5 separate regions of the Homo sapiens genome follow, and all the other regions are linked to region 1. The links are contacts of gene promoters, found by promoter capture Hi-C in human tissues and cell types (Jung and others, 2019). All regions are on one chromosome and are shown on one strand. The core of a region is centred on a gene start or on the middle of the fragment in contact, and the rest is flanking DNA. Distances in the headings are between cores, read along the strand shown.

Region 1 (5,188 bases), core at 2,533-5,032:
TTAAATAAAGCCTGCACTGCTTGATGCTCACTCTCAGTTTTGCGTACTGACTTTGTGACACCAAACGGAGAATAATACCTCATTTTTTTGAGAGGACCAGCTTTGTCCGTAACAGAGGCAGGAAGGTGGGCACAGGGAGTCTGATCTTTGTTCCAAGAGGAACAGAGCCTTTGGAGGTTTAATAGCAGAGAGGGCCATGTGATGTCTCAAACATCTCTGGGTGTAGTTGGAGGAGAGATTCCGGGGCCCGGAGAAGAGTGGGGTTATCTGTTAGGACAAACCTACAGCAGTGTCCACAGAGGGCTGCTGGTGGCCTGCTGGGAGATGGGGTTGCATTTGAAATGGAAAGAAGTTACTGTATTTGGAATATCCTTTGGAGTCAACTCCACAGGACTTGGAGGGGATTGATGTGGTGGGTGAGAGAGGTGACTAGGGTGGTCCAGCTGTCTGACTTCCTAACTGGCTATCCAGGGTGGATGGTGATGGCTTTCAGTGAGCTAGGGTGGAACTCCTCTTCTCCAGAGCATTTCAGAGCCCTACTGGTCACTTGTCACACCATGGGTTGGAAGACAAGGACCCTCTTCCTGTGTTTCAGAGTACTCATCTCCTCCAGGTGTGGATAAAACAGGTAAACACTTAGCACAGCAGCTGGTTCTCAACAAATGATAGCTGCCTGCTGGACCCCCTGCCTCTGGGTCACTCTCGTGGAGCTGTTGGCCTCTTGCTGCAGAGACCTATCACAAGCTGACACTCTTACTTCCTTGTGGGGGCATCTGGGACTCCTGCTGGGGTGGGGATATTTTGTCTCAACCTTGAACCTCCTCATCTTTATCTTGGAAGATGGAGCAAGAGGGGAAGAGAGCTGGCGCTCAGCAGAGGTTGTGCTTTTCTGAAGCCAGGGGAACTGGCCCTCCTCTAAACTAGCTGTGTGACCAGAGGCAAGTCTGCTTTCCTCTCCAGACCTCAGTTTACCTAACTATAAAATGGAGTGGGGCACAGGACTGGAGATTGCCTCTCAACCCCTCTATCTCCAAATCTCTGCATTTTTGTTTATGCTCAAAGGAACGTGGGTGGAGGCTGGGACCACCTTGCTCCTCAGGGTCAAATCCTGGGCCGTTGCCCAAGCCCCAGCCCACTCATTACATCTGTTTCAAACTCTTGCCACAGTCACCTTTTGGGGATAGACACCTCCACTTTGTCTTTCTGGCCTACCTGTCACAGGAGCCTTCCATGGGCTCTAGCTAGTCCAGCCTTTTCTCCTCCTGCCTGGGAGGCTCATGGCAGGCCGCCCCCTCCTGCCCATGCTCGTGCCATTCCCAACCAGGAACACTGCTTCCTCTCTGTCTCCCCTGTGGAAGCCTCAGCTTGGATCCACGGCAGTGAAATCTCCCTCTAAGCTTCTCCTTCCCAGAGTCCCCAGAGTCCCTGGGGTCCCCCCTGGCGACCTTGCATGTTCATTTAGAGCACATTTCTCTACCCTTTCCTTACCTGGTTTTCAGACTTTCTCTTGCCCATGTCAGGTTTCTCAATTGCTTGCTGGCTTCATGCAGCCAACACGGACTTTCTGCATCCCTCTCCCCCAGGGCCTTAGACTGAAACTGTTGTGTTGGGTGTTGGGAGAAACACCTAAGACATTCTCTCCTGCGCGAAGACTCAAGGAAGACACTGGGAAACCCAGACCTTGACTTCCTAGGAGGGTCCCCAGCTTACACCTGGGGATTTCTTCCTTTGGCCCCATTCACCTCCAAATCTGGGGCCACCTTGCCCTCTCCCCACCTTCTGGCCCAGACTCTGAGCTAGGCCCCCATGTCCCCTTTTCCTAACAAAGCCTTCCTCCATGGAAGAGAGCTTGGACACACAATACTTGCCGATAAAAGCAATCATTGTAGCCCCAGGGAAGGGGGCGGGGGTAAAGAAACGGGGAGAGGTTTTGCTCTCTGCTTGCCAAGGCTGGCTCCAGGGAAGGCCGCAGCCCACTCCAGCGAAGCAGGCTGCTGGGGCCCCAGCTGTGACCTGCTCCTCTTGACTTGCTTTCCTTGAGGCAGGAACAAGGGGGTGGAATGGAGCTGGGGCCCCTGAGTTTTCTAGGGGAGTCTTTCTGAGATGGCCCCACAGCAGAAAAGGGGCAATCCTTACGCCATGACTTTTTCCTTCTGTCCCGCAGGGTTCCCACTCTGCAGCTTGGAAAACTGAGACCCTGAGAAGGGAAGCCATTTTATCCAGAGATCATTTGGTGGGCTTGGGTTTGCAGAGGGCCAGAGCTGTGAAGCTCCAGCCTGGTCATCTCCCAGCCTTCTCTCTCTCTCTCTCTTTCTCTCTCTCTCTCTTTCTCTCTCTCTCTTTCCTATCTCTCTCTCTCTTTCCTCTCTCTCTCTCTCTCTCTCTCACACACACACACACACACACACACACACACACACACACCCTCTAACTTTCTTGCTCTGTCATCCCTCACACACAGAATCCTGTCTGGACCTTGACTTTGCACATCATTTTTTTTTTTTTTTGAGACAGGGTATTGCTCTGTCACCCAGGCTGGGTACAGTGGTGTGAGCTGAAGCTCAGCTCACTGCAGCTTCAGCCTCTCAGGCTAAAGCAACCCTTCCGCCTCAGCCTCCCAAAGTGTTGGGACTATAGGCGTGAGCCACTGCACGCAGCCAACACACATCTTAAAAGACCAGAAAGAGGAGAAAGAGGAACTCTATTCTTCCTGAATTTAATATAGATCAATTTGGTTGTGGCATTTCCAAATAACTGGATGCTCTGATGTAGCTTGGAATGCTTGGAATATAATATACTTTAGCTTTCTGAACCTGCTTCTTAAATGCACTGGTCCTCCAAAACCTTGGCATCATTTCCAAGATTCTTTATTCCATGGTTATTACAAAAAAATCTCCTTTCCACAACTCCCACCCCTGGATTGCTTGAAATATAGTTTATTTGCAAGTTATTAGTTACATATTTACAGAGTAAAGCAAGAGCATGGATCTTCTGTTGGGTTGTTTGTACTGACTCCTGACCTGGTCTCAACACCATTGCAAGACTAGCATCAAGTGCTCATCTCTCAGACTCTTGGTTCTTTCCACCTTGGGATGCCACAGTTGCTACTGGTGTCAGGGATGGAAGTGGAGGGCAGTTATCACTTATTGAGCATCTATTATGTGCTGTAGTTAACACCCATTTCACAGATAAGACAACTGAGGCTCAGAGCTAGGATTTCAATCAGGGCTGTCTGACTCTGAAGCCAGGGCTCTCTCCTCACCGGCTCAGCCCTGCTCTTGGCTAGGACACAGGTCAGTCGTGCACCCTGGGCTGGAGTCTGGAAAATGGGTAGATCCAAGGGGTCGATGGTTAGTGAGGGCATCAAGACCATAGTGAAAGAAAGAGGGAGTCTCCCTCTACCGGGAGGTTCACTGTCCACCACACTCCCAAATGCAGCCGGACACCCCTTGGGCTCCTGGCTCTGGAACAGAAACAGAGAGCAGGCCCTGCGGCCAAGAAAGGGGGCGGAGCAGCCATAGAAAGCGGCTTTGGGCCACCACTCCGGGGATCCCAGGCGTCTGAGGGGACAATCGGTCCGTGCGCCAGGAACCCCTGCTCTGTCTCCGCGTGGCACTTCCGATCCCCGGCCGCAGGCAGCTGCACTCCCCAGCCGCGCGCCCCGCCCCCGGGCGCCCGGCGCCCCAGCTCCGACCCGCGCCCGGCCCCGCCCCGCCCAGTGTGCCCACCCCCGGCCCGTCCCGCCGCCCCGTCGCCCGGCTCCCGCGGAGTCCCGGAGCGTCACTGCGCGGGCGGGCTGACCGACCAGCCGGCAGTTGGCACCGGGTGCGCTGGCGCGTCAGTGGCCCCGCTCTCCAGCCGGCAGCCTCGCGCGCCCGGAGCCAGCGGTCCAGGCGGCGGCGCCGCGCAGGGGACCCGGAGCAGGCGGGAGGGAAGCAGCTAGGCGGGGAGGCGGCTGAGGCGGCAGCGGCGGCAGCCAGCCGGTGCTCCGACAGCCCGGGGCGCACCCTAGCCTCGCCGCCCTCAGCCTGGGACTTGGGGATCGGGCGCTTGCCCAGCCCGCGTCCCAGCGCGGCCACATGGCTCCACTCCGCGCGCTGCTGTCCTACCTGCTGCCTTTGCACTGTGCGCTCTGCGCCGCCGCGGGCAGCCGGACCCCAGGTGCGTGCGGGTTGGGCGCGCGGGGGCCCGTGGGGTCCGGGGTGCACGCGGTCAGGGTGGCCCAAGGTTGCCCCAGCCACCCGGGCAGGGTTCCCGCGGGTGGGAGGCAGTATGCACACTCTGGGCTGATTTGCTGTCTTTTCTTCCACTGTGCCACGGCACTGTCCCGTGATTTCTCTCCCTTTCTGGTACTAGAAGTAGACAGAGACCCCAGGAGAGAATTTGGGAGCATCGAGTCTCTTCTCGGGAGCAGCGCATCTGTCTCTTTGTCTCTCTGTGTTTCTTCTTTCCCCTCTTCCCCAATCTGTTTCTCTGTCCTGTGTGTCTTTCTCTTTCAATGTCTTTTCTGTCTCCAACTTGTGTGAGCATGGGTGCAAGGGGTGTGTGTGTGTGTGTGTCTGTGTGTGGCTGTTACATACCCAGCATAAGGCTAACAGGTGATTGCCTCCTACAGCAGAGCATGCGGGGCACTCACGCTCCTGCACAGAAACACACATCCTTCCACTGCCCCCAACGTAGCACTGTCAAACGCTGTGGACACAGGTCTCTTGCATACAGACCAGATACACTCCACTCCCGCCCTGCAGCATGGGGTACCCTCCTGGTGGCTCTGAACATGGGGAGGAGTCACCGGTCATTTCCAGGCAGGGTCCCTCCTTGTTTGTGAGCCTTGTTCATGTGCCAGAGTGGGTCCCCTCTTGCAGCAGTCTTAGGGGTCCTCTGCTATAATGGGGATGAAACTAGAGCTGTGGGCATGGGGGATTTTCAGGAAACACCACTTTCTATGTTTCATCAGTGACGTGAACTGGGGAGACGAGAGGTAGAGCTGTGTGGAAATGAAAATTCCTCCCAAACTCGCATTCATGAATCACCAGGCCTGGAAGCCAGGGAGCTGTCATTCCTGCCCAGCCTGGCTGGGCTCAAGGAGAGCTGCGTGAGGATGGGCCTGCTGGCATGTGGCCTGGAGCATGGGGCCATGACCTCACAGTTAATTCAGCCCAAGTGGGCAGGTCACCCCCTGTATATC
Region 2 (5,951 bases), core at 1,674-4,173, 210 kb before region 1:
TCAACCGATTCTCCTGCCTCAGCCCCCCAAGTAGCTGGGATTACAGGCGCCTGCCACCACACCGGCTAATTTTTGTATTTTTAGTAGAGACAGGGTTTCACCATGTTGGCCAGGCTGGTCTGGTCTTGAACTCCTGATCTCAGGTGATTCACCCGCCTCGGCCTCCCAAAGTGCTGGGATTACAGGCGTGAGCCACCGTGCCCATCCCGTATTGTGCTTTTTAAACACAAAATGAATGCCTATTCGCTGTAGAAAATTTGCAGACTATATAACGGTATATACAGGAAGAGAAAAATCCCCTGTAACCCCATGATCTAGATATAACCATGGTTAATATTTTGGGGGTACATTCTTCCTGTCCCCTGCACTTAGGTATTTATGTGCACATGCATTTATGTGCACTTAGAAGATTCACACAATGTGAACTGTTCTGTAAACTACTTCTTTTATGAAACCAGAACATCTTTCCGGGCCATAAAGCATCCTCTCCACTACCATTTAAAAATAAACGTTGGCTGGGTGTGGTGGCTCATGTCTGTAATCTCAGCACTTTGGGAGGCCAAGGCAGGCAGATTGTTTGAGCCCAGGAGTTCGAGACCAGCCTGGCCAACATGGTGAAACCTCGTCTCTACTGACAATACAATAATTAGCCGAATGTGGTGGCAGACACCTGTAATCCCAGCTACTCAGAAGACTGAGGCAGGAGAATCGCTTGAACCCGGGAGGCGGAGGTTGCAGTGAGCCGAGTTCTCGCTACTGCTCTCCAGCGTGGGCGACAGAGGGAGACTCCGCCTAAAAAAAAAAAAGTTGCTTAATTCTTTAGGCTTCCTCCTCCAGGAAGCCAGCCTGGAGGATTTCTCCAGCCCAGTCAGCCTCTCTCAGGGTCCTTACACCGTGTTCCCTGTTATCCACCTTCTCTTAGACTGTGAGCTTCCAGGGGACAGAAGCCCCCTCTGGACCCTTTCACTCAGTGCCCGGTGTACGTAATAGATGCTTAATAAATGAGGCTGGAAAGGGTACTTTTCTTGATTGCTGTCAGCAGGAGGAGGCTGAGGCAGAGGAAAAGAGCACTGGACTTGGAGTCGGCGTGCCTGCCTGCCTGCCTCTAGCTTCGCAATCTTGTTTGCAGCGAAGGGGCATAGTGGTCTGTGCGGCGCGGTGCCCAGTCCCGCCCGCCCCGCCGCGCCTGGCCGGGCGCCTGGCACAGCCCAGGCGCTCAGCGGAGGCCCCAGGCATGGCAGGACCTACGGAGCCCGGTGAGGTGAGCGCGCCAGGCCGGCCGGCTGGGCTGGAGGCAGAGGCCCAGGCGCCCGCCCTCGTGGGAAAGCGCGCGGAGGGCGACCCGGGTGAGTCAGCCGAAGAGCAGACGGGCTGCGGAGCAAGAAGACCGAGGCTGGAGGCGGCAGTGAGTGTTCCCGCCGGGCGGGTGGCGTTGTCGCCGCCAAGGGGGACCCGCCCCTCTCCCCTGTTCCCCGCACTGCCGGTCCCGCCGCCGGGGCCGGGACAAGAGCCTAGTGAGACAGAGACGCTCCGGCGCGAGCTCCTGCCCAGGCCCTGTGGTCGGGCGGGGTGGGGGTTACCCAGGGCTCTGCCCTCAGCGGGATGTGTCCCCTCCCATCTGTCCCGTCCCCTCGCTGGGCTTCTGTCCAGTGGCCTCATTCTGTTGCTGCTGGTGGGAAGGGTGGGATGTGCCTGCTTGGTAAATTGTGGGGCGCCACCAAACGCGGGGGGCCCCCATTTGGTGCCAGGCGAGGCCTGGTGCGTGGGCAGGAGAGTCAGGATGGGCCCCGCACACCATCACCGCCTTACCGCGGTGCTGCACTGCTAAACCAAGGGATTACTGCTGTTCCTGGGCTCAGGGAGAGAGCGGCTCCCCCACCTTTATCCCCCGCCATCCGCCCACCCACTGCTTCACCCTTCCCCCATCCCACCCCACCCCACTCCAAGCCCCAGGGAGCCCGGTTTATAAGAGCCACTGCCACCGTTTGTCCATCGCTCACTGGGACGCTGCTTTGTGATAAACATTTTGCACAGTTACCTCAGTTAGCCCTCCCGCTGGCACTATACTGACGGCTCCCTTTTCAGATGAGGAACCGGGGCTCGGAGAGGTGAAGTCACTTCTTCAAGGTCACTGCAGTCAGAGGCGGAGCTGCCCTGAGGCTAATTGAAGCTTAAGTTTCAGACCCTTGCAAGGCCCGGACCTAATTTTTGCATTTGTATTTTTGTGTTCTTTTCCTTTAAAAGCCCCCTCCCGCGACAGTAGGAGGGTCAAGCCCCTTCAAAATGGATCTCTCTGACCGTGCCTGGTCTGTCTGCTGTCCTCTGTGGCACTGCCTCGGATGGGTGGGGATGGGGGGGTTGCTGGGGCTGGGCAGTGCCAACCTGGCATGGAGGGAAGGACGTCCAGATTTGGTCAAGGGGCCCACATGACCTTTGCATGAGTCTTGGCAGACTCCAAACAGCCTGCTGTGCGCGGAGCCAGCTTAGGCAGAGCCCCCGCCTTGTGACGTTGGGATCTTCTCTGGGACTCAGCTGTCCTCATCTGAGTTAGGGGTGGTTATTATGGGGTAACTGCAGACACAAGGTGAAAGTGGAAGGAACAGAGGCTGGAAAGCTCGGAGCCCTGCCTGTCCTCCGTTCCCCCACGTACTCCCCCTCAGCCACCCCATAGGTGAACGCCACTCTGCCCTGTGCCCTCATCTTCACAGCCAGCCCTCTCCCCTCCAGCTGCCGCACCTTCTCCACAGCAGTTGTCCGTGGTGCCTACACTCCCCGCTTCACGGTCACCCTTCACCCGGTTCCATTGTGTGCCTCCTGCCTCCACCCACCATGGCGTCTGCCCTGGCTTGGGTTGTATAGGAGAGACTCCGTGTTACCAAATTGGCTCCAGCCCTGCCTGGCCGCACAGCAGCCTTTGACACGATTGAAATGCTCCCCACCTCTTAGCTTTCGTGCGGCTAAGCTTCCCTTCCGCCGTCTGGGCCCCTGCTCAGTCCTCTTTGTCTTCTGAGCCTCTTCCCCCTGCCCCAGGCCTCCCCTCCCCTCGAAGCCCGCCCTCCAAGGCTGTGCTTCGACTTCTCTTCTCCCCTGCGGTTACTTGCCTCTCCTGGAGGGTCTCACCCATCCTGGGGCTTAAAAGCCACCAATGCCCATGGTGCCCGGCCTTTGTCTACCCCAGACCAGTCCTCAGAACTCTGGACCCCTGCACCCACCGGCCTACCGTGCGTCTCCCGTGGGCTCCCTCACAGTCATCTCCGGCTCCATTCATCAAGACTGAACTCCTCTGCGCCTTCTCCAGCGTTCTGTCTGCAGCCAAGCCCCTGATTCCTGATTCCTTCCTCCCTCAACACCACAACATCCAACCTCATACCAGCCATGTGGATCCCACTTCCAAAATGGCTCTCTAGAATCCACCTGCTCCTCCCCATCTCTTCTGTCACCACCTGGTCCCAGCCACCATCATCTCTCTCCTGGACAACTGTGGAGGCCTCCCTGCCTCCACCCTGGCCCCCCAGAATCCACTCCTCTCAGGAGCTAGATGGGATGGCATCACTCCCCTCACTGAAACCCTTCAGTGCCTCTCATTGCCTGTAGGATGAAATACAAGCTCCAGGCCGGGCCAGGTGGCTCACGCCTGTAATCTCAGCACTTTGGGAGGCCGAGGCGGGCGGATCACCTGAGGTCAAGAGTTCAAGACCAGCCTGGCCAACGTGGAGAACCCCGTCTCTACTAAAAATACAAAAATTAGCCGGGCGTGGTGGCATGCGCCTGTAATCCCAGCTACTTGGGAGGCTGAGGCAGGAGAATCACTTGAACCCAAGAGGCAGAGGTTGCAGTGAGCTGAGATCGTGTCATTGCACTCCAGCCTGAGCAACAAGAGCAAAACTTCGTCTCAAAAAAAAATAAAAGAAAATACAAGCTCCAGAACCCCGGCCTGCGGGCCTCAGCCCTCTGGCTCATTGCTGTGCAGCTGCAGCAGCCTTCTTTCCGCTTCTAGAGTGTGATGTGAGTGTTCCCATTGCAGGGCCTTTGCCCCTGCTGTCTCCTCTGGCTGGAATGCCCTTTCTCCCACTCTTTGCCTGGCACACATCTAATTAGCCTTCAAGTCTTAGCTTAAGGGATGACCTCCTTGGAGAGGCCTTCCCCACGAACCCCTGTCACACTCCCTAGGAGTACCCCAAGTACTTACTGTCAGCTGGAATTATGTCTTTATTTCTGGGGCTATGGGTTAATGTCTGCCACCCCCACCAGATGGCAAGCTCCACAGGGCTGTCTGGTTTACTGTCTGTGTTGCTCTGCCTCTCCCGTGCCTAGCACAGTGCCAGGCACACAGTCAGCACCCAGGAAACACGTGTGAAGGAAAGGTGTGGAGGCCCAGCTGCCAAAGTTGTCCTGCTGCCATCTGTCCAGCAGATGGCCTCCCAGACCAGAGCTTCACCTCTGTAGATGGGTACCCATAGCAGTCCTCAGATTCCAGAACAGCTCCTATGCAAATCCCGGGGCCCCCACTTGAGATCCACATGGCAGATGTGGGAGCCAGGCCATGCCCTCTTTTGTCTTCAGTCCCAGAAAGCCCTTGGCACTTGCTTTTTTGAGATTTACGACTTGGCATTGTGATTTTTTTGTTTTTTGTTTTTGTTTTCATTTTTGAGGCAGGGTCTCGCTCTGTCACCCAGGCTGGAGTGCAATGGCACAATCATGACTAATTGCAGCCTCAACCTCCCTGGCTCAAGCCATCCTCCCACCTCAGGCTCCCGAGTAGCTGGGACTACAGGCATGTGCAATCATGCCCAGCGTATTTTTGTATTATTTGTAGAGATGGAGTTTCACCATGTTGCCCAGGCTGGTCTCAAACTCCTGACCTTGAGCGATCCGCCCACCTCAGCTTCCCATAGTGCTGGGACTGCAGGTGTGAGCCACCACCCTCGGCTTGGCATCATGATTATCTACCTGCATGTCCTACAAGGGGACTAGGGGCAACTCAAGCCAGAGACCTGATCTCACCTGTCTCTTTTTCCTTGCTTGCGCAGAGCTCAGAAAACAAATGACTAGTAGGGAAACTGAGTGACTCAGTCAGTGGAGAGACTGCTCCTGGAAGTTAACATTAAGGCTTTGGAGCCCCATTCCTGGGTTCTACTCCCGGCTCTGGGGCTTCCTAGTTGTGAGGCTTAGGCGAGTTTCTTAACTAATCTATGCCTCCCCTGTAAAGTGGGAATACTACGTGCCTCATAGGATTGTTGTGAGACTTGAATGAGGAAATACATGAAAAGTCTTTTTTTTCTGGTGCCTGGCATGTAATCAATGCTCAGTAAATGGGAGCTTTTATCATTGAACAATTCTTTACCCCCTACTGGAAGTCCAGTCTCAGCTGGGGAGAGGCTGCCTACTGTTGCACTGGGCACAATTGTGCATGCTTGTGCAGGGCATGCACACACATATGCAGGAACAACACACAACTCTCCCAGCTGTGGCGTGAGCTGGCCAAGGTGCCTCCCTTGCCAGAACAGGGGAGCCTGGCAGATGCCTTGTGCCCCCCTGGCACTGTGCCTCCTGTGCCCAGTGCCATTGGCTTGGCAAGACAGGTTGCCATGGCAGCAGGTGACTGGGCCTGCAGGCGGGGACAGTGGGTAGCCTTGGCTGAGCTCTCTGGTTTTTTAGAAGGGGGTGGCTTGCTGCCAAGGCACAGGCTTTCCTGTTACTTGGCTGCATCCGTGGCCACACCCAGGAGCCCCTGTGGGCTCCCAGCCCTGGGAACTGGGAGACTGAGCCAGCCACTCACTCTGGGCATTCCCCCAGGCCTGGGGACATGCCCCATTGTCCATCACTCACATTCCACTGGAAAGATCTGGCGTGGGTCTTTTTCCTCTACCCCGTGGTGAACTCCTGGAGAGTTCAGATTGCACCCAGCACATTGTAGGTCTCTCTCGAATGTTTGTGGGGTGAATCAAAAA
Region 3 (5,542 bases), core at 1-2,500, 190 kb before region 1:
TGGAGCTGAGGACAAGTCTTCCCTGGGCCTGTTTCCTCATTTGTTAAAATAGGGATCAGAAAAGTACCGACCTTATAACTTCGCGAGGCACTTAAGAGCTAGGTGCTAGGGACATGGTGAGACCACCACAATGAGTGATTTCTCTTGTCTTCAGTTATTCTTAGGGGTCATGGGGAATGTGTTCCCCTCTCCCAGCCCAGCGCTCTCCAGCCTGACAGAGGTGGGGCCTACACTGCCTGCATCCTGGGGCAACCCCAGCTCGCCGAAATCCAGCTCCAGTCCTGAATGGGGGTGAGGCAGGTGGTAACAGGTGAGAAAAAAGGATTTCCCGAGTGTGGAGCAGCGAGAGGGAGGAAGTGACTCACCAACCACAACAAAGCCTATCTCTCCGCGAGGAAGCACAGCGAAGAGTGAACGCACGCACGTGGGTGCGTTCACCCACGTGCTCGCGGGGGCGTGCGGGGCCGTCGGAGTGGGCCGGGCTGGCTGCCGCCTAGTGCTAGTCCGCGCGTGTGGGGTGAGGAGTGGTGGGGGGGGCAGGCCTATGGTGCGGGTCACTGCCTGGAGCCGCATGATGGGTGGGGGCGGAGGGACCCCTCTCCATCCAAAGCTCTGCTCTGCTGTTCCCCTCTCACCTCTGGGGGCCGAGGGGCGCGTTTCCTTAGGACCCCGGGGCGTGGGAGAAGCCCCTGCTTGGGGGGACCGTCTGCTGTTTAGGGGCTCCCCTTCGACACGTGGGAGGCAAAAGTGCAGAGCGCACCATCATCCAGCTCCGGCCGCACTGCACAGCGAGGCCGGCCCGGAGCCCGGATGCTGGGCTCGGTCCCGCCGAGGCTCGGCCTGGCTGTAAAGCAGAGGGGGGCGAGGGAAGCCGGGCCAGCGGGTGTCGCGGGTAGCCGGCGTCCGGGACGGGGTGTGGCGCCCAGAGCGCTGCTGCCTCTCGCAGCCAGGAGGCTGGATGTCGGGTTTGGGTGTCTTCCAGAAGGAGCCGCACTAGCGACGAGGGAAGAGGAACTGGCTTCCCGGGCAGTCTCCCCCGCCCCAAACTTTTCCTCCTCGCGGAGGGTGGGCGGGCGGAGGGAGGAAGCGCAGCCGGGGAACGTGGCGCCCGCGTTCCTCCCGCCCGGGGGCTGCGGCTGGGCTGAGTGTGTCTTTAAATCTGAGCCCCCCGCCCCTCGCGGTGGGGCCGGGACTCGCGGTCCGGGCGGGGGCGGGCGCGGTGATTGGCGGCCGGGTCGGGTCCGCCCCTCGGCGTTGGGTAGCGGGGCGCTGGGGAGCAGCGCGGCGCGCACGGGCCGGGGCGCGCAGGTCCCGTCGCCGGTGAGCACGGGCTCCCTCTCGCGTGGCCTCGCCGGGTCCGCCTGGCCTGCCCACCTCCGGAGCCACCTCTGCCCCCGCATGGGCTGGCGAAGTTGGGAGGAGCGAGCTGGAGCCAGAGCGCGCGCCGGGCGCGCCCCGTCGCTGCCTGACTCGGCGCCCGCAGTTCGGGCGCAGCACGCCGGCCGCAGGAGCACGGATGCCCCCCGGAGCCGCGGGCTGGCAGGTACCGAAGTGTCCTGCCCTGGGGCTGGCGAGGGGAGGGCAAATCTGGAATCCCCCGGGCACCCCCCAGCCCGAGGCTGCTCCAGACACCAACTCCCCATCCTTTGGAGAGGTGAGGTCCTGGGCCTTCACCCCACACCCGCTCAGGATTGGTCCCTGGGAGGCAAGAGGGACTCACAGGGAGCAGTTGCTGGGTGGTTGTGTGTGTTGGACCCTGGGCTACCCCCTCTCCCGAGTTCCCTGGGTTTGGTGTAGGCATGGCCTGGTGACAATTCCACTTTTCATTGCCAGACCTGGGAGCATGGCCAGGAGCTAGGGTTTCCCGCGAAGTTAGGGGGAGATTGGGGAGAGGGAAGCCGCTTCATGACCGAGATGGGGTCCTGGGACTCATCTCTAGGGGGCGTGAGGCCCTCAGACCCAGGACGAGTCCAGAAGTCTCAGCGGGCACAGGCTTTGATTCTTGGCCCAGTCTGGCCCTCTTCCTCTGTAGGCCCGGGTCTCCAAGGAGAGTACGTTTTTCAGTTTCAGAGGGTTTTCCTGAAGGGGCAGTAACCTGTCAGAGAGAGAGTGGCCTATGGGAGACCCGGCTCCTGAAGGTGGCCGGGATGGTTGGAGCCCTTTCTCTTGGGTTGTCAGAGATGGGAGTAAAGCTTCATGGCCCAGGGAATCTTCTGGGCATCTCTACTCTCCCAGCCAGAGGCCCAGGAACCAACTCCTTGGCTTCTGGGTAGAGTAACCTGAACCCAGTGGCCGAGCACCTCTTAAATGCCAGGAAGGGCACTGGGCCGTGCCCCTGGAATGTGTGGATGGAGGAGGATTTGGAGGATTCTGTCCTCAGGAGGCTCAGCCCCTGGGGGCAAGACAGGACATAAACACACAAAGTTCCCCGATACAGGGTTTCAATACCAGTCCTGAACTGGTAATAGTGGAAAGCCAAGAGGCTACACACCATTAATTGCTATGTGAGTAATGTAGGCTGCGAGAGTGCCAGGGCAGCAGAGATCCAGTTCCATGCAAGCAAGCAAATGTGCTGAAATGTTCCAGCTCCATGCCCGCCCTTCCTTATTACCTTGCTCCAAGGGCAGGGAGCAGCAGGGGCGCTGAGGAGGTTCTCCTGCACTCATCCCCACCCACTCCCAGGTTTGTTTGTTTCCTGCTGGTGGATTTCTGAAATAACCCATTTGGTTTCTTGGCTTGGGCTGAGCACAGGACACTCCTAGTTGCCCTGTGGCTCCTGGGGTTTGGGGTCTAGAGCCAGCCTTGTAGGAGGTTCAGAGGTAAGCAGGAGGAAGTCCTCACTTCCTTTCTGAAGAGCCTCTGTCGCGGGGGGTTGGGGTAGGTCGGGAGGCTGGCAGGCACTGGGCCAGTTTCCTATGAGTGCAGACAGACCCCAGGTGGTGCATGCACCCCCCTCCCTTTCCTGGCCAGTGTTGGGGGTGGGCACAGTAGGGCCCAGGTGGCTTGAGGTGGGTGGTTCCTGGCACAGCTCTGACCTCACTTCTGTGAGGCTCTGCTGTATCTGGGGCCCTGCCCCCTCCCTCATTGTCCCTGGCAGGTTTCTGTTTTTCTGGAGCACTTCGTGGAGGTGGCAGTGTGCTCATGCTCGTGGCCTTGGGTGCAGTTCTGGGAGTGGGAGTTGCTGAGCTCACCCGAAGCCCTTGGCTGGCACTGTGAGAACTTGTGTGAACACACTTGCCTGCCTCCAAACAGGTGGTGCACAGACCTGGGTTACCCAGGCACCTGTGGGGGATGCCCCGTGTGGGCAGAGACGTGAGTGCGTGTGTGTGCTCAGGTTTACATCTGTGTGGGCAGAGACGTAGAGGAGCTGGATACATATATACTTGAGGACAGACACAGGAGGATGGTGGGGGTGAGCAAACAACCCAGGGACACAGACATGTGCGGGGACAGACATACATGAACCCATCAGCGTGGGCCACGTATGGGCTGCAGACACGTACATAGAAATACACCATTGCTGGGATCTGAATCTCCCCACATGGGAGGCAGACATGTAAGTGGACAGACATATAGGTAGACCCAGCAGAGCACAGACGGGGATGGGAACCGACATTCCCAGACAAAAGACTCGGAGCCACAGGGAAGCCGCTCAAGTGCCTGGGCAGAATGGAGTTGGCTGTGAGCTCCTGGGGGGCACAGACACATATGCTTGCCAGAGCCAGCGGACAGCAGAGGCCAGGAACCAGACACAGGTGGGTTCTGAGAGGTAGGCCGAGGCGTGCATTGCCTGGTTATCACTGTTTCCCTGCGTGGCACAGTGCCCGGAAGTTGTCCTGTTTGGGGTGGTGATGGTACAGGTGCTCTGTGGTGGAGCTTATTTCTAGACTCTCACTTTGGGGTTTGAGGACCCCAAAAAGCTCAGTCTCCTGTGTTTTACTCAGAGTCATTTGGCCTCTCCACCTCTGCATTACAAGGCTGTGTTTGTGCCTTAAGTGCCAGCAGGTGCTCTTTGAATTTTGATTCTCATCTTCCCTGGATCTCCAGAGGCTTCCTGAAGTGAGGCTGTGTGGCCTGGGTAGGGTGCTCCAACTGTTCCTTTCCTACCAGAATAGGAGAGGAACTGTCTGGGGATTCTCCTTCTGAACCCAAGCCTGCGGGTCTTTGACAGGGATCCCCCAGGTGAGAGAGAGAGCACACATGTAGCTGCGTCTGTGATGAGAGCCACTGCCCTCTGGGGCGGGCTCCTTCTCTGCTAAGCCGTGGGCTTGCACAGGGAAGGGGTCCCCCACCTGGCTATGCTCAGGTCTCCTCTGCCCAACCTGGCACCTGAGAGACAGCCCAGATTCTAGATATGCTTTGATACTAATGCACCATGCAACCTCCAGCAAGTCAATTAATGTATTGGTTTCCTCATCTTTAGAGTGGGGTCAGTAACCTCTACCTCCTTGTGGGTTCAGTGGGAGAAAATCAGTGCAAAGCATGTGGCCCAGTGCATGGCATGGAGTGAGTGCTCAGTTGATGTGGCGGTGGGGGCCTTTGATTATGAGCCATCCCCTGTGGCCAGGACTCTGCAGGGCTTCCTCAGCAGCCAGGTGCATGGCCCTGGGCCTCTGGGTGAGGTCTGGAGCAGGCTGGGTGGGCCAGGCACCTCTCCTGTGAAAGCTGGAGGGCTTTGTCCTCAGTCGGTGCCCACTAGTCCCTCCTTAGCCCTGTGGGACCTCCATACACGGGGTCAGGAAATGGCAGGCTGGGCGGGCGTATGGAAGCTTGGGCCTGCTGACTGCTGGGCCTCTGGGAGGGGAGCCAGTGTTTGCTAAGAATAGTCCCAAATCATGGCTTTCGTTTCCCAGAGGGCAGCCCAGCCATGTGCTGCCCCTGTCTTGGGCCAAGGCACTTGCAGATGGACTTTTTATGTTTCCTGTAACTGGTGCTCAGCACAGGATTGAGCCTGGGAGCAGCAGGCTTAGTCTGGGAGGAGGCTCTGTTTGTCTTCCGAGGCCTTTGGCTGGGACCCGGGGAAAGAGAAGGTCTGGAAGCACTGGCCTTTATAATCCCTGAGTTCCTTTTCCACTCAGGGCTTTTCCTGACACATCTGCCTCGACCATCTTCCTACCTGCAAATAGACCTGTTGTGATTAAGAACACTGGCTCTGGAAAGAAACTACCAGGGTCTGAATTTCTGCTCCCTCCCTCATTAGCCATGTGGCCCAGGGCAAGAAACTTAACCTCTCTGTGCCTCAAGTCCCTTGTGTAACAGGGTTAAGGATAGCAACTCCCTTATGAGAATGTCACAAGGATGAAAGGAGGTAATCGCAGAGAGCCTCCGAGGCTGTCTGGCTCCTAGGAAGTACTCAGTAAACATTAGGTGCTTATGTTATTACCACGATGTTATTCTCTCAGCAGAGGCCAGGATGCTTGCACAGGACCAGTTGGTGGGAAGGGACCAGCGTGGCATCTTGATGTGGGTTCCTGAGCTTTCTTGGCCCTGGGTTCAGTATGAGGTGCAGGGGCTCCGAAGGTAGATTAAACTCTGTCCCTGC
Region 4 (5,470 bases), core at 3-2,502, 200 kb after region 1:
GAGACGGGGGCCTCATTTGTAGTTTATCTCATCTCTATGGATGTCTTAATAACTGGCAGCTCTTACCCTAAGGCTAATGTACAATTTAATGGTTAGGACAGTGATTCCCAAACTTGAGCATGCATTCTAATCACCTGAAGGACTTGTTAAAACACAGGTAGCTGGGCCCACCCCTAGAGTTTCTGATTCAGTGGAACTGGGATGGGCTCTAAAAATTTCCATTTCTGGAGATACTGATGCTACTGCTCCAGGAATCATACTTGAAGAATCATTGGAATAAGAAAATAATTGGAAATGGGCCAGAAGGAATGAGGAAAGGAGGGCAATGAAATCTTGGGTTAAGCCAAGGCCAGAACAGGCTGCATGCTTTGTCTAATGTATCTGTTAACATCTTATCTGCCCATCTCTCTATGTGTCACTTGGATTGGGGAGGCTCTTTAAGTATATTGAGGGGGAAGGAAAGCTGCCTGCAGGCATTTCTCATTTGAGAAAGATCCTTGGCCAGGCACGGTGGCTCCGGCCTGTAATCCCAGCACTTTGGGAGGCCAAGGCAAAAGGATCGCTTCAGCTCAGGAATTAAAGACCAACCGGAGCAACATAGTGAGACATTATCTCTACAACAAATTTAAAAATTAGCCATGAGGCCGGGCGCGGTGACTCATCCCTGTAATCCCAGCACTTTGGGAGGCTGAGGCGGGTGGATCACCTGAGGTCCAGAGTTCAAGACCAGCCTGACCAACAGGGAGAACCCCGTCTCTACTAAAAATACAAAATTAGCCGGGCGTGGTGGCGCATGCCTGTAATCCCAGCTACTCAGGAGGCTGAGGCAGGAGAATTGCTTGAACCCGGGAGGCAGAGGTTGCGGTGAGTTGAGATGGCACCATTGCACTCAAGCCTGGGCAACAAGAACGAAACTCCATCTCAAAAATAAAAAATAAATAAAAATAAAAATTAGCCACATGTGGTGGTGTGCACCTTTGGTCCCAGCTACACAGGAGGCTTAAGGCAAGAGGACTGCTTGAACAGCCCAGGAATTTGAGGTTACAGTGAGCTATGATCACACCACTGCACTCTAGCCTGGGTGACAGAGCAAGACCCTGTCTCAAATAAATAAGCAAACAAATAAATAAAAATTAGATATATATAAAAGGTCCTCCTATAGCTCTGATAGGGCCATTTATTAAGACCTGCTATACCATTTCTTGCTTTAGGGATTACATATGACTTTTTAGAACTGTGGAGATGGGCAGATTACTTTTCCAGAAATTTTTTTAGTACATCTTTCATGCCTCAGAAGCATCTAGGGGAATATAATTGGGAGTTGGGTAGACAGGTTCGAAGTCAGTGATTGAGTCATTAGATCTAGATGGGGTTTGGGCCTTGGAATTCCATTTTTATTGTTCCATCTATGATTCTGATCTCAGTAAGAACCACTGATCCAGTGTAGCCCTCTTCTTTTTTGAAGATGAGAAGACTAAAGCCCAAAGGGTTAGATTGCATTCATTATAAGGAAGACTTTGAATGATTAAAGAGATAGTGACCAGGGGATTGTATGTGACTGAATTTACTTTTTCTTCCTTCATTTATTTTTTTGTTTTAAGACTGGAAAATATCAAAGGCATCTTTGTTTTTGGGAATCCCCAATTGTCAGTCATTGCTCTGGGATCCCGTGATTTTGACATCTACCGACTATCAAACCTGATGACTGCTAAGGGGTGGAACTTGAACCAGTTGCAGTTCCCACCCAGGTAAGCTTGAAGAAGCCTCTTTCCCTTATTTTGCTCCATGATTTTGGAAGAACTTGGGTGGTACAGTAACCTGAAGTATAGAGTTTGACTGCTAGAGGCTAGCACGTTAGTAGCAACTGTAGTATATAAAGGATTTCTCTCTTGCCACCTGGAATTATTAGATACAAAGAACAAGACCATTAGCTTTAAACTCTGGCAGAATTAGGTGACAGCCTCCTAGACCAGTGGTTGGTCATGAGGTTTTTCTCTCAGTCTCTAGCCTTTCTACTCTCCAATCCATCTTGTACACAGCCATCAAATTGCTCTTATAAAATACTTGTTACCTGGCTAATATTTAGTTCAAGATCTTCCTGGGGGTCTCTAATCATTCAGGCCTGCTACTGCCTTCTTTATTAGACTTTTCTAACCTAATCTTCCATGATGCCTTTGAGTAAATGCACCACTCCAACTGAGTACAGGTCTGTTCATGTCCTCTGTGTACAGCTTAGCCTTCCACACGTTGGTGCATTGCCAGTCCCATCTGGACTATCTTTTTCCCTCTTCACAATTCCAGTAAACCCCACTAAATTCCTCCAGGGCGAGGTAGAATTTCTTCTGTGCCCTGAAGTCCTTTAAGACCCCAGCCATGTGGCCCTGTCCCCATGAGAGCACATGGGGGCTGATTATCTAAGATAAAAGTGTCTCATTGATGGTGACGTGGTTGAAGGAATGGTGGTGGAATTTGTGAGGGGATGGGTGGGACAAAGCAGCCAACACTGTTCATCCTCTTAGCATGGTTCTCAGTCATGCCGAGAAGCTCTGAGGCCAGCCCATGCCTGACACCCCAAGCATGAGAGAGCCGAGATTCCCAGGACTAGGAACAACTTGGATGACTACACTTGTCAGAAATATTGTGAAAGGGCAACCAGGAAATTCCCGTATTTGGGGCTGCATCATTTTAGAACATTTTTTCTTTCTTCAAGGTTCATCTCTCTCTGTCTCTTCTTTCCTAGTATTCATTTCTGCATCACATTACTACACGCCCGGAAACGAGTAGCTATACAATTCCTAAAGGACATTCGAGAATCTGTCACTCAAATCATGAAGAATCCTAAAGCGAAGACCACAGGAATGGTAGGGACACTTGGAGTTTTTTTTCTTCTCTTGGAAATTTAGGTGTTGGTGGAGAGTTTGAAGGAATCATATGACCCGGAGTCTGTTCCTGCCTCTGCCCCTTTGCCACAGACATCTTTTATTTGTTGACTGGAGCTGATGATCTCTGCATCACCCACCCCTTAGGGTTGCTGAAGTCTCAAATGAGATACACTATAAAGTACCTTGTAAGTTAGAGACTTCTGTATAAAAGCAGCTGGTGGTAGTGTCCATTTGAAAAGAAAATTTTGTCACAGGAAAGATAGTAAACATGTTTTTTCTGGAATTTTCTTAGGCTAGTCCCTTTATGCAGAAAGGCAGACTGGAAAGTCCCTGTGAAAAATTGACTATGCCAGCTGTTTTTCTGATAGAATGATGGGATGCCTTAGGTGGAAATGGGGTAGGGCAGTGCACATGCGAAGCTAGGACTCGGGGAGAAGGGGCTCATTGCTGCAGTTTTATTCTTGCTTTTGGACCTGGCCTCACTAATAATGTCTCTTTCTTTGGATTTGTAGGGTGCCATCTATGGCATGGCCCAGACAACTGTTGACAGGAATATGGTTGCAGAATTGTCCTCAGTCTTCTTGGACAGCTTGTACAGCACCGACACTGTCACCCAGGGCAGCCAGATGAATGGTTCTCCAAAACCCCACTGAACTTGGACCCTTTCTAGTCTCAAGGGGATTCCAGCCTTCAGAAGGTTCTTGGGATATGGAACAGGCCGTGCACAACTTTGACATCTGGTCTTGCTCCATAGAGCACAACTCAAGATAGACCATGAGACAGCTTGAGCCTCAGGATTCTTGTTCTTCCTCTTATCTTCCTTTTGTGGTTTTTAATTTGAAGACCCCAGAGAATTCCATTACATAATGATTTTGCCCTTGTTATAAATGTTACCCTAGGAATTGTTTTAACCATTTCCTTTTCTAAACTCTCTAGCTTTCAACTTTACTTAAACATTGTGTGGTAGCTCTGACCTGTCCTGATTCTTTAGAGAAGCTGGGGTACAGTTTATGAGATAGCTAGAGCTTCTTTGTTATCTCAGGCAGGAGGCGTTTACATAACAGATGTTTCCTCAGCTGGGTGTGAGGTATACTCTAAGCAGGAGGCTTTTTCAGCCTTCTCTCTCTTTTTTTTTTTTTTTTTTTTTTTTGAGATGGAATTTTGCTCTTTTGCCCAGTCTGGAGTGCAGTGGCATGATCTCAGCTCACTGCAACCTCCACCCACTGGGTTCAAGCGATTCTTCTGCCTCAGCCTCCCGAGTAGCTGGGATTACCGGCACCCACCACCACGCCTGGCTAATTTTTCAATTTTCTTTTTCAGTAGAGACGGGTTCACCGTGTTGGCCAGGCTGGTCTTGAACTCCTGACCTCAGGTGATACCCGCCCCCCCGCCTCAGCCTCCCAAAGTGCTGGGATTACAGGCGTGAGCCACCGTGCCTGGCCCTGTCTCTCTTAAGAGTAGGTTCATTGTCTGTCTTAGAGTCACTTCTATTGCAACTCATTTTCTTTTTCCAGGGCACAGATCGACCAAGCTGCCGTTCCCTATTCTGCAGGACAGGACTATTCTAGCATACCTGCTTCGTCCACCCAGGCAGGGTTTGGGGTGGTCTCTTCTGTGCCTGCAGTCCCCATTTGACACTTGGTTGCCACCATCTTTGGAGATTATTGTTTGGAATGATGCTTCCATTGGCTTTTTCTTGTTACCATGGACTAGGAAGAAAACATGGTTTCCAAATAATCTGGGAGCTTTTGGCCATGGTGCCGCCTTCCTGAATTGGCAGTGGTCAGAGCACACCTGAACCCTATCCTGGGCTGGTGATGAGCAGAAATCAGACCTTTTTCTATGCTTTTTTGAATATCAGAGTAGGATGAACACCCAGATTCAAATATGTCACCAAAGTTGGTGGTGGTCCTTCCCTGCACCCTTGCGTTAAGCCATTATGTAATGAAAATGTGTTTGCTTGAAGGAACAGCTCAAAGCACCTTCACAAGTTGCCTTGACTTACCCTAGGTGGGTGTGAAAGAGCACCCGTAGCAAGGAAAATTTTCTCTATTAGTGTGTTCTTCTGCCTCTTCCCCCTTGATTCAGCTTTCAGAGGTACTATGGCAGTTTTGCCTCAGGTGCTGAACATTTCTCAGCCCTGGCTAAAAGGGAGCAGCACAGGGAGAGAAACAGGATAGGAAAGCAGAATGGCGAGCAGCCTATGGCCCAGGGCCTGTAATCCCTTCCCAAGACTAGCTGCTCAGGGTGGTGCAGGGACAGGACCAGACCCTGCGCCTATTTCCTGCCTTCTTTCCCCTATAGGGAACTCTGTAGGCTGAGCCACTGTCCTGCTCTTATGACATTATATCTTGTGCCTTTCTCCTCAGCAGTGAGCAGTGAGCTACTCCTGGCCCAGGCCCTAGGGGAAATGGATCAGTCTTTGAGGTTTCTATTTGGGGAGGGGAGTACTTAAGATGAGTCAAAAGACACTTTCCTCTGTTCCATTCCCCATCTCAGGGACTCCTGAATATTCAGCCTCTCCAGGCTGGTGTCTTCTAGTTTCCCCCACTGGGAATGCTGGCTGGGAGAGCCATGACTACCAGACT
Region 5 (5,626 bases), core at 2,021-4,520, 230 kb after region 1:
TGCCCGATTCCTGCCCACCCTATAGGTCTCTTTCCTCAGTGCTTCATTTCCTTTTTCCCTTGCTCCTGAAGGGTGAAGAATGACACATCTTTGAATCCCCTGGGGCATCTGGAAATCTGCCCTGCACTTAATACCTTCTCAACAAATGTTTCCCAAATTCATGTTTGTGTATTTCTGCGGGGAGCTGAGATAGCTACTCAGCACCATGTAAACTGTATTCAAGAAATATTGTTCAACAGTGACAACCCTGAAACGCTAACATTTATGTAGTATAATCTTTTGCCAGGTCCCACGCTAAGGATCTAAAAAGGTTTGTAAAAGCTTTGTTTCAAATCATAGAAGGAGCATGTGCTGATAGTAAAAAAAGAAAGAAAAAAAAGGGTGGGCCCATATGGTTGGTATAAAGAGAAAGGTAAAAATCCCCTCTGCCACCCCGCTCTGTACCCACCCCAGGTCGCCAGGCGGAGGTCACCACAGCCTCTGGAGGCAGCGTCTGCCCTGAGGTCTGGCTCTTCTGCTTGCTTAATTGTGGGATCTTGAGCAAGTTACTTAACCTTTTGCAATATCAGTGTCCTCAACTGTAAAATGGGGATAATAACAATAGCAGCCTTGTGGGAGGTTGTAATGATTAAATGAGACATTTCATGTTGAGTGTCTGGCAGTGCCCCCTGTATCCTCTCAACCCCACCCTGAACATGACCTTCAAGAGCAAGACTTTGCCCTCTCTGCCTGGGGAGGCTCCCTGCCCATCGAAGATGCTCTGCCCACAAGCTGGACAGGCTGCAGATGACAGGGAGTTAATACCCTACTCTCAACCAATGTAGGATGGGGGTTGGTGGATACGTATCCACTTCCTTATCCCTTGGTGGAAGGATTCTGGTGTGTTTACACCGTCGCTCCGAGGGTCCCCAGCAGGACTGAGTGATAACCTGCTCGTTCGTGCTTGCTTACTCGGCTCTCCTCCCTCCCCATCTAACCTGCTGTTTTTTTTTTTCTTAATTCAAGGTTGTCCTTTTGTTATTGGTTTGTAGAATTACAACCCTTTGTTGATTATCTATGTTGTAAATATTTTCTCCGAATCTCATTTACTTTTTAGCTTAGTGACATAAAGAAATGTTTAGTTCTTAGATAGCCCAGTCTGCCTGACTTTTCCTTTACAGTTTCTAGACTTATGTCTTGCTTAGGAAGGACTTTCTCACCTCAAGATTAACAAATAGCTGTGTCTCTATTGCCTCTTAGTACTTTTTCAGTTGGTAAAAAGTTGGTAAAAGATTTGTTAATCTCTTTGGAATTTACTTTTGGCTATGATGTGAGAAATAATAAGAATAAGAAAAGTAACAATTATTTTATTTCCAAATAGATAAACAATAATCTCATACTATTTTTTAAATACAAAGAATAGGCCATCCTTTCGCCACTGATTGGAAATGCTACTTTTGTAATATACTAATTTCCCATAATCCCCATAGCTTGGTTTCTGGGTTCTTTGTTCTGTTCCTTTGATCCACCGACTCCATCCTGTTTTAATTTCTCTAGCTTTATAGTTCATTTTGATATCTGGTACATCAAGTCCAATCTCATTTTTCTTCTTCAAAATGTTCTTGCCTATTCCTGCTTGTTTACTCTTTCAGATGAGCTTGAAAATCAGCTTGTCAAGTTCCATAAAAATCCCTTTAGGATTCTGATTGTGAATGCATTGAATTTATAGATTTAATTTGGGAAGAATTGACATCTTCATATTATCGGGTCTTTCCATCTTGGAGTGTGATATATCACCCCATTTATTCAGGCCTTCTCTATGCCCTTCAGTAAAGTTTTACTGTGTTCCTCATGCAGGACTTGGACATGTCTTGTTCAGTTTATTCTTAGGTGTTTTATAGTCAGCGTTGGCTGCTATGCACGGGATGATTGCTTCATTACATTTCTAATTGGCCTTTGCAGGTATATAGGAGAAGTGTGGATTTTGATGTGGTATCTTGTCTCCAGTCATGCTGATAAACTCTCTATTTAGTTCTAATATTTGTCAATGGATTAGAAAAACTTTGAACCAGTCATGCTGTCGCACACAGGATGGGCCTCCAGGGAAGGGGCAAGGAGCTCCGCAGTCCTGATGGCCGCTATTGAATCCACGGATCCTGTTAGGGCTGCTGTAGAGACTGCCGTGCATATGGTTCAGAGCTTTGGACAAGACAGCCTTTAGATCCTTTCCCATTCTAAGCTTCTAACATTCACAATTCCGGTGCCTGTCTGCTTCATGCACTATCTCCCAGTTGCATAACGACCAAAGCCAAGTTCCCTTCCTTCCCTCCCTCCTTCCTTTCCTTCCTCAACTATACTTTGGTTTCTACCTGCCAAGCTGTGTCAGGTTCTGGGAAGGTGGGGAGGGAGAGATCACGATGATTGCTGCAGAGATAAGTGCTCCACACCCTTGGGATGCAAATGATGTTACTTAAATCGCCTCAGACTAGAATGTGGTAGAACCCCCGTGCCCCGCCATGGGCTGGATATACAATCTACACTTGGGGGGCTACCCCGCCTCCTACCCCACCTCCCTAAGTGGTTCATGAACCCTAGGGTTTGCCCGATCCCAAAGGAGGGCTTCCACTCTCAAGGAACCCAGAGCCACGCCGCCTCTCCCCACTGCTGTCCTTGCCTTTGCCGCGCAGGGTGCCGCCATCAGGTCCTGTTGTGCTTCTGCTCAGGGAAAGTCTCCCAGGCTCCTGCCCAGGGGTGGCAGCTCCCTGAGCTGCCAGCCTTCTATGCAGGTGCCCCCAGGGAGGGCCCCTATCCCTCGGCAACCAAGACTGCTCCTCAGGGGCCCTCTCGGCAGTTCTCCCAGGGCATCTGCCCCACAGCCCGTAGATCAGGACAGCAGGGTCAGGCTCCTGCCTCATGAACCTTGAAACTGGCCCCTCTGGTCCCCTTCCTGGGCCCACAGAACTGCCCAGGGCTGCTGGTCCCCTCCCTGCACCCCCGGCTGTTTCCACCCATCTCTCACAGGGGGCTGTGATGATTGCCCATCAGAAGGGCCCAGAGTGGTGGCTTTCCATCAGGGTGGTAGTGAATTTTTTCCCCCAGGGGACAGTTGGCAAGGTTTGGTTGTCACACTGGGGATGGCAGTGCTGCTGTCATCTAGTGAGTGCCAACCAAGGAAGCTGCTGAACATCCTATAGTGCATGGGACAGCCCCTCACAAGGAAGAGCTGTTCAGCCCCAAATACCAATAGTCCTGAGGGTGGGGCCCTGGTCCACTGTAGCACTGGCCAATAGAAATATAATGGGAACCACAAATGCAGGCTCCGCATGTGAGTTTACACTTCCCGATAGCTACTTTTTTTTTTTGACATGGAGTTTCACTCTTGTTCCCAGGCTGAGGTGCAATGACACAATCTCGGCTCACTGCAACCTCCGCCTCCTGCATTCCAGCGATTCTCCTGCCTAGGCCTCCTGAGTAGCTGGGATTACAGGCATGCGCCACCAGCCCTGGCTAATTTTGTATTTTTAGTAGAGACAGGGTTTCTCCATGTTGGTCAGGCTGGTCCCGAACTCCCGACCTCAGGTGATCCACCCACCTTGGCCTCCCAAAGTGCTGGGATTACAGGCATGAGCCACCGCGACTGGCCAGATAGCTACATTCTTAAAGAGTAAAGAGAAATATATGAAATTGCTTTTAATTTACTGCATGTTATTTAATCCCAATATATCCAAAATGTTATGATTTCAACAAGTAATTGATATAAAATTGAGCTGTTACATTCTCTTTTTTCATATAAGTCTTCAGAATCCACTATGTATTTTACCCTATGGCACACCTTAATTTGAACACTAAATTTTTATTGGAAACACTTGATCCGCATTTATTTTTCGTAAAATTTATGGTTGAAAAAGTAGATTTACATGTCAAATTGTTTATCAGTGTTTAAATGTAAATTAAAATGAATTGAAATTAAATAAAATATCAAAATAAATTCCTCAGTCACAGGGCATATTTCAGGTTCTTAGTGGCCACAAGTCACTAGTGGCTACCCTATTGGGCAGCACAGGTCTAGACATCAGAAATGGTAAGTTCCAGTTTCCTCCTTAGGGAGGCAGAACCTGCCACCTCTTCCTCTCTGATGGGCCAGACTGCCTTCCCGTCAGAGAAGGGCAGAAGGAGCTTTTGGCAATAGTGGTAGAGACTCAACACATGACTTCAGTTCTTAGTGTGTCCCTGCCATGCTGAGAACCAGTGTCTTCTCTCAGGGACCTTCTGATCTAGGGAAGGAGATGATCACACCAATGCTACAGGTGACAAGTGCTCTAACAGAGGCCGTGAGGCCAGGCTGCAGTGGAGTGACAACAACTCTACACATGGGAAGCACTCACATTGGAGGGGGTGCTTAGAGTAAGCTTGAAGATTCATTAGGAGCTGGCCAGGCAGAGGCAAGATTGGGCGGGGGGGATGACCCGGATGGGCACCCGGGCAGAGAAGGTGGCTGAGCAAAGGCCAGCCAGTCTGCGAGGTTGTGGCGTGCTCCTCTAAGTGAAGACCTGAGAGCACTGAAGAGGTTGGAGAGGCTCATGGCGACAGGCTCTGCATGGTTCTGTGTAGGTTCCCCTGGGGAGCCCAGTTCCCAGCTCTGCTCCATGAAGGAAGTAGACTTGGACTTGGCCCAACTTGCTTTCCGCCTTCCCTGCAACACTTCTGTCCACCAGAAGGGGGCAGGGCCACCTCAGGAAACGAGACCCATTCTGTGGGGGGCTCAGTCAAGGTTCAGTCCTGAGTTAGGTGAGACCTTTCAATCCTCAGTGGACAGGTACTGAGCTTCAGGCCCCGTGCTGGGACCTGGGTGCACTAAGACGAGCCCCACCCCTTGCAGCCTGTGTCCGCAGTGTCCCAGGCCGAAGGGATTGTGGGGGTTTCAAGGAGGCAGTGGGCAGCTCTGCCTAGGGGGAGGCCGGAGGAAAATGAGGACCAGCTCCCTAGAGGAGGCAACTCTTAAGCTGAAGCAAGAGAAGAAGTTGCCTTCTCGGCTGACAGGGTTGTGAGGTGTGCCACTCTGAGGGGGCACAGCAAGCGGCATGGAGGTGTGACCGCGGGCATGTCTGGTTGCTGGCTATGTCCTGGATCCTAGAGCACAGGGTGCAAGGGGCTGGGGTGACTGGCCATGGCTCGTGGGGGGCCCTGGAGCCACATGCATGAACTCCATTCTGGTGCAGCAGGGAGAACAGACAGAATTTCCTTTTTAAAAAACAAAAAAAAAATTTCTTATGAAAACTATCAAATAGGCACCAAGTACAGAGAAGAGTTCATGGACCCCCATGTACCCAGCACCTGGCACCAACAGAGATCTACCAGCTTCTCATCCATTCTCCCTCCACATTTGTACAAACCTTTTATAGATAGAAATTGTTAAACATACCAAAGAAGGGAGACTGGCATAACGATCCCCACAGACGCACCAGCCAGCTCCACCAGGAAGTTTCCAGGCTGGTCTCGGCCGCCCACTCCTTCCCACCCTCAGATTATTCTGAAGCAAATCACATAGCATTTTATATTTAAATATTTCAGTGTATATCTCTAAAAATGAGAGACTCTTTAAAAACACAGGCTTGCACTACTATGATAACACCTGAACAATGTGCAC

The links. Contacts are between HindIII fragments. The study calls those that stand out against the background at their distance.
Region 2: a contact is called between a fragment that was not itself captured here and the fragment with the promoter of ADAMTS14 in region 1, in 2 of the 25 tissues and cell types used here (adrenal gland and lymphoblastoid cells).
Region 3: a contact is called between the fragment with the promoter of PALD1 here and the fragment with the promoter of ADAMTS14 in region 1, in 5 of the 25 tissues and cell types used here (heart left ventricle, liver, mesenchymal stem cells and 2 more).
Region 4: a contact is called between a fragment that was not itself captured here and the fragment with the promoter of ADAMTS14 in region 1, in 2 of the 25 tissues and cell types used here (heart right ventricle and thymus).
Region 5: a fragment that was not itself captured here is called in contact with the fragment with the promoter of ADAMTS14 in region 1 in 2 of the 25 tissues and cell types used here (psoas muscle and spleen).

The regions. Positions count from the first base shown.
Region 1 is chr10:70,668,724-70,673,911 of GRCh38, forward strand. ADAMTS14 (ADAM metallopeptidase with thrombospondin type 1 motif 14) reads left to right here and starts at 3,783. Exons shown (of 22, transcript NM_080722.4): 1 at 3,783-4,161. The coding sequence starts at 4,080. RefSeq lists a silencer at 2,370-2,664. The HindIII fragment of the contact is 21,684 bases long and covers 1-5,188 here.
Region 2 is chr10:70,457,162-70,463,112 of GRCh38, forward strand. It overlaps a transcript of PALD1 not described here. Among named protein-coding and RNA genes, the nearest start is that of NODAL, 18 kb to the left of the region's middle. The HindIII fragment of the contact is 6,583 bases long and covers 1-5,951 here.
Region 3 is chr10:70,477,517-70,483,058 of GRCh38, forward strand. PALD1 (phosphatase domain containing paladin 1) reads left to right here and starts at 1,251. Exons shown (of 20, transcript NM_014431.3): 1 at 1,251-1,543. RefSeq lists silencers at 867-936, 1,137-1,586 and enhancers at 2,581-3,223, 2,867-3,046, 3,224-3,865, 5,359-5,542. The HindIII fragment of the contact is 10,532 bases long and covers 1-3,480 here.
Region 4 is chr10:70,873,801-70,879,270 of GRCh38, forward strand. SGPL1 (sphingosine-1-phosphate lyase 1) reads left to right here. Exons shown (of 15, transcript NM_003901.4): 13 at 1,602-1,748; 14 at 2,741-2,861; 15 at 3,395-5,470. The coding sequence ends at 3,535. Among named protein-coding and RNA genes, the nearest start is that of PCBD1, 12 kb to the right of the region's middle. The HindIII fragment of the contact is 9,714 bases long and covers 1-5,470 here.
Region 5 is chr10:70,898,796-70,904,421 of GRCh38, forward strand. No RefSeq gene overlaps it. Among named protein-coding and RNA genes, the nearest start is that of PCBD1, 13 kb to the left of the region's middle. RefSeq lists an enhancer at 4,819-5,367. The HindIII fragment of the contact is 4,003 bases long and covers 1,270-5,272 here.